Linked DNA regions of Homo sapiens: region 2 is linked to region 1. The links are contacts of gene promoters, found by promoter capture Hi-C in human tissues and cell types (Jung and others, 2019). All regions are on one chromosome and are shown on one strand. Each heading gives the region's core, a stretch centred on a gene start or on the middle of the fragment in contact. The rest is flanking DNA. Distances are from core to core; before and after follow the strand shown. Region 1 holds the start of ZFYVE9 (zinc finger FYVE-type containing 9). Region 2 overlaps TUT4 (terminal uridylyl transferase 4).

What was found. Contacts are between HindIII fragments. The study calls those that stand out against the background at their distance.
Region 2: a fragment that was not itself captured here is called in contact with the fragment with the promoter of ZFYVE9 in region 1 in 1 of the 25 tissues and cell types used here (stomach).

What each region holds. Positions count from the first base shown.
Region 1 is chr1:52,138,098-52,143,672 of GRCh38, forward strand. ZFYVE9 (zinc finger FYVE-type containing 9) reads left to right here and starts at 3,992. Exons shown (of 19, transcript NM_004799.4): 1 at 3,992-4,306. It overlaps LOC107984956 (collagen alpha-2(I) chain-like), which reads left to right and starts at 1,622. Exons shown (of 5, transcript XM_047439476.1): 1 at 1,622-1,703; 2 at 3,096-3,192; 3 at 3,338-3,384; 4 at 3,680-4,306. The coding sequence starts at 1,622. RefSeq lists a silencer at 3,792-4,651. The HindIII fragment of the contact is 20,668 bases long and covers 1-5,575 here.
Region 2 is chr1:52,531,742-52,537,855 of GRCh38, forward strand. All of the region lies in intron 1 of TUT4 (terminal uridylyl transferase 4), which reads right to left. The region is part of intron 1 of LOC105378723 (a long non-coding RNA gene); the gene reads left to right. Among named protein-coding and RNA genes, the nearest start is that of TUT4, 18 kb to the right of the region's middle. RefSeq lists an enhancer at 561-620. The HindIII fragment of the contact is 6,450 bases long and covers 812-6,114 here.

The DNA of each region.
Region 1 (5,575 bases), core at 2,742-5,241:
AGAACTGCTTTGCTAATTTTTTAAAAATAATTTTATTTTATTTTTAGAGGCAGGGTCTCACTCTGTCTCTGAGGCTGGAGTGCAGTGGGGCAATCATAGATTACTGTAACCTCAAATTCCTGGGCTCAAGCGATCCTCCTGCTTCAGCCTCCCAAGTAGCCAGGACTACAGGCTCTTGCCACCATGCCTGGTAATTTTTTTTTTCTTTTTGAGACGGAGTTTCGCTCTGTCGCCCAGTCTGGAGTGCAGTGGCACAGTCTCAGCTCACTGCAACCTCCGCCTCCTGGGTTCAAGTGATTCTCCTGCCTCAGCCTCCTGAGTAGCTGGGATCACGGACACACACCACCATGCCTGGCTAATTTTTGTATTTTTAGTAGAGACAGGGTTTCACCATGTTGGCCAGGATGGTCTTGATCTCCTGACCTCGTGGGCTGCCCACCTCGGCCTCCCAAAGTGCTAGGATTACAGGTGTGAGCCACCGTGCCCGGCCGGGAGTCTTATTTTTTGTGGGCCCTGAAATTTAAAGGAAAAGTTCTAAAAAGTCACTGAGCATGTGGGATGCAGGCTATCTACAGTCTGATGAGGGAAGTTCAGTTCAGCTTAACATCCTCTGGGGTGTACTTTGTGCTGAGACTGGTTCTAGGGACACAGATATGAATCAAACACTGAACCTGTCAAACAGGGGCTTACAATTTGGTAGGGGAGACATATAAGTAAATAGATACTGACTGTAGAGTGATGAGTAGTTACAAATTGGGAAGCACAAGGATTAATAGGAGCATGGAAGGGGTTTTGTGTCTTCCTTTAAACAAACTTTTATACAGTATTTACTTGTTTTTTTTTTTTTTGAAACTGAGTCTTGCTCTGTTGCCCAGGCTGGAGTGTAATGGTGCGATCTTGGCTCACTGCAACCTCTGCCTCTGGCGTTGAAGCGATTCTCCTGCCCCAGCCTCCCAAGAAGCTGGGATTACAGGCACTCGCCATCATGCCTGGCTAATTTTTGTATTTTTGTAGAGACAGGGTTTCACCACGTTGGCCAGACTGATCTTGAACTCCTGACCTCAGGTGATCCACATGCCTCATCCTCCCAAAGTGCTGGGATTACAGGCATGAGCCACTGCACCCGGCCAGTATTTACTCTTATATCCAAATAGAATATGCATTCATCAATTCTTCCTTTTTTTCATTCAGTTCACTTATAATTTATTGAGCATATATCCTAGACCAAAGTGAGTGGCAGTGGAGTTGGACAGGAGAAGAGAAATTTAAAAAGCAAAAAAGTAAAATTTATCAGGCTTTGTAACTACTTGCCCAGGAGAAAGACACAAGAGTTAAGAATGAATCCAAGATTTTTGGCTTGGGCATCTGGGTGGATGATGGTGCCATTCGCCAAGTCAGGAAACGGGTATCTTTTTGGCCTGAATTTTAAAAACTAATTTTAAAGAGCAAAGAATATTTTGCTTGGGGTGCTAGTGCTTAAACTCAGTTGAAAAAAGATTCTTAGAATATTGGCTTTCTACAGGATGTAGACAGTATAAAAATGAAAGTGGGGAGGTCTACCAGGTTGGGAATAGACATTTTACGGTTGCTAGCTAATAGGGGAAATCAATGAAAAATTGAGATGAGGGTAGCCAAATCAATTGACAGAAGCCCAAGGGAGATTAAAATGAACAAGAGATTTACAGTACAAGAGAGGAAAACAGGTGAGAGACATTTTAGAAGCAGAGGGCAAACTGAAAACGATGGAATGAAATTGAAGAGGATGAAATGATTTAAAGTGGACTACTCCGATCAGCGGGGAGGTTGTGATGATAAAGGCAGCTGCTTTCAGCAACAAGGAGAGAAAGTGTGAAGCAAGAGGAAACTGGTCTTGGGAACAAATGAATCATCTTCTTCATGTAGTAGCTATGCCCTGGGTTGCATGATTATTCATAAACAAATGCAGGTTTCCTGTGGTGGCAGTGATCTAGGCATGAAAAATACAGTGCTAATATTAGGTTACAGCGCTAATGATCTCAATCAGTTGAAGGGCCCTTTTCCCTTGACTAAACATTTTTTAGCAACAAATGACCCTTACAGCATTTTGTTAATATTGTTGAAAGGACTGTTGGGGCATCAGGTTGGGGACTGAAGGGAATCTCAGGGTCTACTTCCAGCTCTTCCTTAGGTTGGATATATTTCACATGTAAAATGGTAGCATAGGACCTAACTCATAGAATCACTGCGAGGATGAATCATGGTTTCCCTTTGAGCCCCAGTTTCTCTTGTTATAGAAAGGGCATAGTGATTTTTTTGTGACTCAGGAGTATGTGGCAAAGGCACACTTAGGATTATGCAGGAACAGCTTTCATTAAGAGAGCTACTAGGTGACATCTTCTCCATGGTGGCTGCTCAATTATTAAATGAATGATTCCTGGAGACCTTTTGTAGTTTCTATTATTTATCATCATTAGGCCATAACCTAAGGTAAGGTGAGATTGCCTTATAACATTTTTTATACATAAAAAATACTGGTTGCATGCTGCTATCTGCTGTGCAACAGAATGTCATAGGATCCAGTGTATGAGGCTCTATTCTTCCATGGAGGGGTGTTACATAAACCCATTAGTGAAATTTAGGGAAATTTCACCCAGACTAGGGAGGATGAAGAATGGAGCATCTATCTTTTGACAGAAATACAGTTACACACACACATACACACACACATACACACACACAGAGAGAGAGAGAGAGAGAGAGAGAATGAGAAACAAAAACAGAGGAGTACAAAATTGAGCCTAAGAAAAAGAACTGGAACCAATAAAAATTGTAACTAACATTTATTAAGTATCTTCTATGGGCCAGTCTCTTTATCTCCAATCTTCAACAACCAGCAAGGCAGGCAGGAGAAAACTGAAGTTCAAAAATGTTACATAACTTCCCCAGGGTCATAAAGCTATATATACATGACAGAACTGGAACTGGTAGTGTTGGTATGTGTCTGACACCAAAATCACTACACATTCTAGTATACCACTCTGTTAAAAAAGTGTATTTGGAAAATTTAGGGATCAGAGGATTTGGAGAATTTTCTTTCCCTACTTCCCCTCTGACAGTCGTGTTTGTTTTTGGTTCTGATGTTTGCACCCTAGAGGCTGACTGGGATCAAATATGGGGCATCTGTAAACAGAATGATTCCATAGCCCCCACTGTGTAATAATTTCCTTCCTTCAGAGCCTTACTAGGATTTGCCTGGGATGAGGGGTGGAAAGGTGGGAGAGAAGAGGTTGGGAGGGAGAGGATGTTAGTAAAAGATGGGTGATTCTTTGCTTACCTTTAAGTTGTTTATGAATTTCAGGACAACCCGTTGGCTATTCTCTTCTCTGGCTTGGCATATATATATATGTATGTATTTTTTTTTCATTTTTGTTTTGTGGGGGTGGTGGTTTAGGTGTTAAGGGTTTGGTTGATATCTGTAGAAAATTTCTTAATGATCTACACAGTAGATAAAAAAACAAGTTAAGGTCAAAGACAATTCCTTCGTCTGTTTTGGGAGACGAGTGTGTATGTTTGAAAAAAAGGTTTGTTCTGGGTCACTCTTCTTTCATCCAGACGCATTAAAGGAATTAGAAGGGGGTCTCCCTGCCACCCCCGAAACCGTGAGAGTCAAACGGAGATTCCCTTATATTCCTGCTCTCAGGTGCGGGTCCGAGTGACAAGAACGTTCACGTATCTTCGGGAGAGAACGAAAAGGTGCTCGGGTCTGGCGGGGGCGGGGAACGCCAGGGGTTGGTGGGAACTGAGGGGCTTCCGGTTCCCGGGAAGCGGAGTCCCGGGCCGGCCGCGGGCCGCGGGCTACGCAGGGAGCACGGGGCCCTCGCCGCCCCCAGGCCGCGCTCCTTAGCGTTCCCTGCGGCTCGTGCCCAGCGCGGCCGCCGCAGTCCCGACGCCGTAGCCGGACGTGGGGTCCAGGGGGCGCTGTGGCCCAGCGGCGCCGGCGGCAGGAGCGGCCACCCGACGCTGGAGGCTTCGCTGAGGATCCCCGCCTGCCGCACCTCGGTCGTCCCGCCGCAGCCTTGCGCCCCCGGCCCGGCTCGGCGGCGCTCCTCCGGGATCCGCGTGGCTGCCGCGGCCCGGGCGCCGATGCGGCTGGGCGGGTGCCGGGCCTTAGCAGCAGTAGCAGCCGCAGCTGCGGCTACCGCAGCTCCTACAGGAGTGGGAGGTTTCGCGGCGGCGCCTGGGGCCGCGCCGGTGCCCTCCGGAGGAGGCTTTCGGCTCAGGGACGACCCCCGTGGCCATGCTGAAGCGGAGGCGGCCGCTGCTCGAGGTGAGTGTGGCGCGGCGTGGTCCGGGGCTCGCCGGCCTCCCGCCGCCTGTGGGGGCCCTGGCGGCAGACCGCGGGCCGGGCGGACGGGGCGTCCTGCCACTGCGGTCGCCTCCCCCACCCTGCGGTCCTGGGGCCTCAGCCCTTTCTCCCCGCGTCCCCCGGGAGGCTGAAGGCCGTGGGGGGCGATTAGGCCCCGCGCCGTTGGGAAGCCCTCGCTCCGGCCTCGGTTCCGGCGCGGCCGGGTGTGTGGAGCTGGGGGCCGGCAGGAGCACGGCCGCCTTTCGGGTTTGCATGGGCCCGGGCCGAGCGCAGCCTCTTAGCCCGGGCCCTGCACGTACATCCCGGAGGGAGGCAGATGACGCCTGTTTGCAAACAAGCTTTGGCTTCCACGCGTCCCATACCGAGTCCCTCAGAATCCCGGTTGTGGCGGGGAAAGGGGGAGGAGAGGAAGGCCAGGGTGAGAATTGGGGGTGCAGAGAGTGCGGGACCAAGAGAGCCCCTGCTACTCCTGGAGTGTCATTCATGGATCTGGCTTGCTCGAGAACAACCTTTTGCGTCTTATTTGAGGTGAAATTTCATCACCTGCCGGTTGCTCATTCCTGCCTCTTTATATTATATCTTGCCTCTAAGCGTGGTCTGCCTTGGAGAAAGCCCCATCGCATCTTTGCGATGCTAAGTTTTGTAGATAAACACTCACAGTTATAAAAACGTCTTTTACAAAGGTCTGCCCCCCACACCCCGCCAGAAGAAATATTTTTATGCTTCAGTGTTCGGTACAAAAATGTTCCACTTAAAGAGATCCAGAGAATAGTTGGCAAAAGGATTTTAAGTCCTCTTTAAGTGCCAGCTACCCTAATAAATACCTGAAGGAAATGGGATACATGCTAAATTTTAGAAATAAAATGATTTGTTCTGATATTAATGTTGAAAATGCTACTGATTACAGTTTGATACCGTAAGTCAGATATTTATGTTTTGTGAGAAATGTGATTACAGGTTATTCTTGTTTTCCTGTTATGTATGTGAAAGTTATAAGACTTATAGGTACTTGCAAAACTTTTATAATCATGAAAAAATATGCTTATTGTAGAAAACTTGGGAATTATAGAAAGGTACCATGTTGGCTCTTAATAAATATTTAATAATAGGAGAAATCACCCATAATCTCACAGATTGTAAACAGTACAGGTTTATAATGGGCTCGTACTGACAGTGATTTTTAAAATTATTATTTCTGTATATTAGGTTTAAAATTATCTGACTGTTCCA
Region 2 (6,114 bases), core at 2,787-5,286, 390 kb after region 1:
TCCTCCACCCTCTTACCCAGGGTGGGCTCAGATAAGTATGCCTCTTCTTAATGAACTCTTTTTACTTTTCTCACAGCACTTAGCACTTAAACCTATTTATGTTTTTACTTCCTATCTGAACAGTAGAGACTGTCTTTTCTCATCTTTTTTTTTTTTTTTTTTTTTTTTTTTTTGAGACAGAATCCCACTCTGCTGCCAAGCTGGAGTGCACTCTCAGCTCACTGCAACCTCCACTTCCCAGGTTCAAGCAAATCTCCTGCCTCAGCCTCCTGAGTAGCTGGGACTACAAGCGTGTGCTACCACGCCCAGCTAATTTTTGTATTTTTAGCAGATACGGGGTTTTACCATGTTGGTCAGGATGGTCCTGACCTCATGTTCTGCCCGCCTCGGCCTCCCAAAGTGCTGGGATTACCACGCCTGCCTCTAATCTGTTTTTAATAAAACAAATACATTTACATGGTTGAAAAACAGTACTCTCTTGCCAACTCCCAATTTCTCTCCTCAGAAGCAACTACCTACTTTCAGTTATTTTTATTTATCTCCATATTTCTAAATAACATGCTTAAGATAATACTTCTTGTTTTGTTTTAGCTTTTTTTTTTTATACAGTATCTCACTCTGTCACCCACGCTGGAGTGCAGTGGCGTGCAGTCATGGCTCACTGCAGCCTTGACCCCTGGGCTCAAGCGAGCCTCCCACCTCAGCCTCACAGGCACACACGACCACACCTGGCAATTTTTTAAAAAATTTTATGGAGACAGGGTCTCACCATGTTGCCCAGGCTGTCTCGAACTCCTGGGCTCAAGCGATCCTGCTGCCTTGGCCTACCCAAGTGCCGGGATTACAGGCATGAGCTACCATGCCCGGCCTTACCTATTATCTGCTAACTTCCTACATGAAAGGTATGGATTTAGCTATCTCAAATATTCCCCTTAAAAACATACATAACTGTGCAACGTAAGTACCTCCCCACCCTACCACCATCCTCCTAGGATGATTTTAATAAGATATGCCAATATTATTCACAGTTAAGCCAACTATACTGTAGCACAGAGTTTCCTAAATGTCCCTAAAAATTAACTTTCTCCTTTTTCCTGAGCACATGACTAGTCTACATTTCACAAACTTCTCTGCAGTCTGATGTGGCCTTCTGATAAAGTTCTCACTTCCTCATGCTCTCTTTCTCTTCTCACTGAATAAAATTTTCAACTGCCCCGCTTCAATCATTCAACCATCATGTTCTAATCCAGACCAGTGAGTCCCAAACTTTTGTGTATAGGAATAAACAACTAAATGCGATTCTGATTCAGTAGATTGGGAGTGGGTTCCAATATTCTGCATTTCAAACAAACCCAGGTCATGTCCACTCAGCTAGTCCTTGGCCATACTTTTGGTGAGACAGCAGGATCAATGTAACTTAGGCCCCTGAATGACCACATGGAACAAACTACTCATCTAGATTTCCTGACCATTTACCCAGCAACTATTATATGAGAAAGGAATAAAACTCTTTGTTTTTTAAGCCACTCTATTACTGGATCTAGCTTTTGACTTAAGAAATATATATACTTAATCACATTTCCCTTTTGGTATACTTTTCAGTTTTACCTGAAATTAATCACTTCATTTTTCTTAAGCTTCTTCTACATACCTATCAATAATTCATTGACAGAACTATAAATATCTTCTCAGTAAGATCAAACACATCAAGTAATTTGGTTTTGTTGTTGCTGTTCTCTCCTTGGATATCCCTTCTTGGGAGCTTTCTGGTCGTTACTATACTTTCACTACAGTTGTCGTTATACTGAGAGTTCCTTTCACTATCATCCTACCAATTCCCTTACGCTCTCTCATGCTGACTCTTCTTTTTAGCTCTTCCATGATTTATTCCCTTGTTTTTGGTGGAACATACCCTCCAGCAGCTTTCTAAGAAAGGAAACATGAGGCCAGGCACAGTGGCTCACGGCTGTAATCCGAGCACTTTGGGAGGCTAAGGCAGGTAGATCACTTGAGGCCAGGAGTTCAAGACTGGCCTGGCATGGCGAAATCTCGTCTCTATTAAAATACAAAAAAATTTAGCCAGGTGTGGTAGCACACACCTGTAATCCCAGCTACTGGGGAGAATGAGGCACAAAAATCGTTTGAACCTGGGAGGCGGAGATTGCAGTGAGCTGAGATTGCACCACTGCACTCCAACTTGTGCAACAGTGTGCGACTCAGTCTCAAAAAAAGGAAGAAAACATGAAAGATATTGAAGAAAATAATTATGTCCCACTTTCGATATTTCATTCTATGTAGACGGATACCCGTTATCATAACATCCCTGACCTCTTTCCACTCCCCTCATTCATTCCTTGCCTAAGGAGAAGAGGTAACTTACTTCATCAGTGAGTTTGGGAAAATAATCCAGACAAAACTTAGCCCCGTCCCCTCTCCTTCCCATTCTGTTCCATCATACTCTAACATTTACAGGTGTAAGGCTCACATAGGGCCTGCAGTTGTTCAGCTCTGCCAGTTCCTGAGGGCTAAGTCTGCCTAATTCTGGCACTCGGTATCAGTAAACCAGTTGAAAGTATAAGCCGCCTTCTCCAAACTGAACGTGATCAAAAATAAAATTATAAAAACTAAATAAAAATAAAATTATCTTCTGGTCTCCATATGCTTCCTTCGTTTCACCCAATTTGTTGAAAATTCAGGAAAGCAAAAGGGGTGCTATTTATTGGACCCCCGTAAACTCCAACCAGAAGTAAATTTTATAAAACTGCATATTTGAAATATCTTTATTGTATCTTCACACCTCATTTAGTTAGGTATAAAATTCTAGGTTAGGGCCAGGCACGGTGCTTCATGCCTGCAATCCCAGCACTTTGGTAGATTGAGGCGGGAGGATCATTTGAGTTCAGAAGTTCAAAGCCAGCTCAGGCAACATGGCAAAACCCTGTCTCTACAAAAAAAAAAAAAACAAACAAAAATCAGCCAAATGTGGTGGCGCATGCCTGTGGTCCCAGCTACTTGGGAGGCTGAGGTGGAAGAATCACTTGAGCCCAGGAGGTCAAGGCTGCAGTGAGCCGTGATGGCACCACTGAACCCCAGGCTGGGCGACAGTGCAACACCCCGTCCCCAAAAAAATAAAATAAAATTCTAGGTTAGAAATTATTCATTCAAAATGTTTTCAATGATTTCTAGTTTCTGGGACTAGCACTGAGAAAATTATGCCATTCTTATTCTTTACCTTTTTTACTGACCTGTTTTTTTCTCTAAGAAAACTTCTAGGATGATCTCTTTGCTTTGGTATTCTGAAATTTCCAAGCAATAAGCCTGCTGTAGATATCTCCTCATTCATCTTGTTGCATAGTCATCTTGTTGCATAGTCAGCTGGCTCTGTTCATCAGTAATTCACATCATTCACTTCTGTAAAATTTTTTTCTTCTATCTACTATAAATTCCTCCTTTTCATCTTTTCTGTTCTCTTTCTATTGCTCCTATTAATTAGACTTGGGCCTCCTAAATTGATTCTCCAATTTTCTTATCTTTTCTCTCCATTTTTCCACCTTTCTTTTTGTTCTCCTTCCTAGGTGATTTCCTCAACTCTATCTTCCAACTCTTCTATCATATTTTTATTTCTAAGAACTCTCTCTAATTATTCCTTTTCACAGCACTCTGATCTTGTTTCATAGTTATAATCTCATATTTCTAAAGACCACTAATATTCAGAACACTAAAATTCTTTCTCAAACTTTTTTCTGCCCTCTGTATTTTTTGTTCTCTGGCATTTTGTTCCCTGGGCAATACTGTTCATTTTCTTCTCTACCAAGCGTACCAACATATGCATAATAGGAGTCACAGAAAGAAGAAAGAGAAGGGTGTAGAAAAAATATTTGAAGAAACAATGGTCAGAAACTTCCCCAATCTGATGAAAGACACAAGTATATACCTCCACAAAGCTCAATAAACTTTAAGCAGCGTAAACTCAAAGAAATCCACACTGAGACAGAGTCAAATTGTCAAAACCAAAGAGAACTTTGAAAGAAGCAAGAAAATTTAACTCATCAAACAAAAGTTAACAGCTGATTGCCCATAAGAAACCATGGAAATGAGAAGGCAATGCAGTGACATATTTGAAGTCCTAAAAGAAAAAAGCTGTGAACTAAGAATTCTCTAGCCAGTAAAACCGCCTTTCAAGAATGAAGGAGAAATTATATTTCCAGATAAACAAAAAGTGAGAAAGTTCATTCTGCCGTACAAGTGCTAAAAGAAATTCTTAATGCTGAGATGAAAAGACATTAGACAATAATTCAAATCCATAACAAGAAATAAAGAACACTAGTAAAAATAACTACATAGGTAAATATAAAAGCCAATGTTATTGTAATTTTGGTAACTCTTGGGTTTTTCCCTTTTACATGATTTAAAAGACAAATGCATAAAAATTCATTACAAACCTCTGTTAATAGGCACAAACTATATAAAGATGTAATCTGTGACAATAAAAATATAAAGGAGGAGAGAAAGATGAGTAGGAGCAGAGTATTTGCGTACTATTTAAACTAAGCTGGCATTATTCAAACTAGGTTGTTATAAATTTAAGATGTTAATTACATCATTATCCCCAAGGCATCCACTAAGAAAGTAACACACACACACAAAATCAAAACAGGATTATAATTCTATAAAAAATCAACTAAATACATAAAAAGGCAGCATTAGAGGAACAAAAGGCATAAAAAACATATGGAAAAGAAAGAGCTAAATGGCAGAAGTAAATCCATCCTTACCAGTAATTACTTTAAATGTAAATGAATTAAACTTTCCAATTAAAAAGAGAGATTGGCCAGGCGTGGTGGCTCACGCCTGTAATCCCAGCACTTTGGGAGGCCGAGGTAGGTGGATTACCTGAGATCAGGAGTTCACAACCAGCCTGGAGAACATGGTGAAACCCTGTCTCTACTAAAAATACGAAAAAATAAGAGGGCGTGGTGGTGGGTGCTTGTAATCCCAGCTACTTGGGAGGCTGAGGCAGGAGAATCACTTGAACCCAGGAGGTGGAGGTTGCAGTGAGCCGAGACTGTGCCACTGCACTCCAGCCTGGGCAACAAGAGTTTCGTCTCAAAAAAGTAACATTAAATTAAATTTTAAAAAATAGGCCGGGCGCGGTGGCTCACGCCTGTAATCCCAACACTTTGGGAGGCCAAGGCAGGCGGATCATGAGGTCAGGAGATCGAGACCACCCTGGCTAACACGGTGAAACCCCGTCTCTACTAACAAAAAATTAGCCGGGCATGGTGGCGTGCGCCCATAGTCCCAGCTACTTGGGAGGCTGAGGCAGGATAATCGCTTGAACCCAGGAGGCGGAGGTTGCAGTGGGCCGAGATTGTGCCACTGCACTCCAGCAGCCTGGGCAATAATAGTGAAACTCCATCTCAAAATAAATAAATAAATAAAAATTAAAAAAAAGAGAGAGATTGGCAAATTGGAAAACACAATCTATCATCTATCTACAAGATTCACTTTAGATACAAAGAGCAAAGGCGTTATAAGAAAAAATGAAAACAGATACTCCATGCAAAGAGTAACAAAGAGAGAGCTGGGGCTAAATTATTACCAGATAAAATAACACTTTAAGTCAAAAAAGGTTACAAAACACAAAGATAGATATTATATATTGATAAAAGGTTCAATCCAGCAAGGACATATAACAGTTATAAACATATGCACCTAACAACAGTGACCTAAAATACAGGAAACAAAAGTTAACACAATTGAAAAGAGAAATTGTTCTATAATCATACTTAGGAGACTTCAATACCCCACTTTTCAATAACAGAACAACCAGACAGAAAATCAAAAAGGAAACAGAGGATTTGTGTAACACTATAAACTAATTTGACTGGCTCAGCGCGGTGGCTCATGCCTGTAATCTCAGCACTTCGAGAGGCCAGGGCAGGTGGATCACCTGAGGTCAGGAACTCAAGACCAGCCTGGCCAACATGGCGAAATCCCATCTCTACTAAAAATACAAAAATTAGCCAGGCATGGTGGCGCGTGCCTGTAATCCCAGCTACTCAGGAGGCTGAAGCAGGAAGATCGCTTGAACCGAGAAGGCAGTTTGCTGTG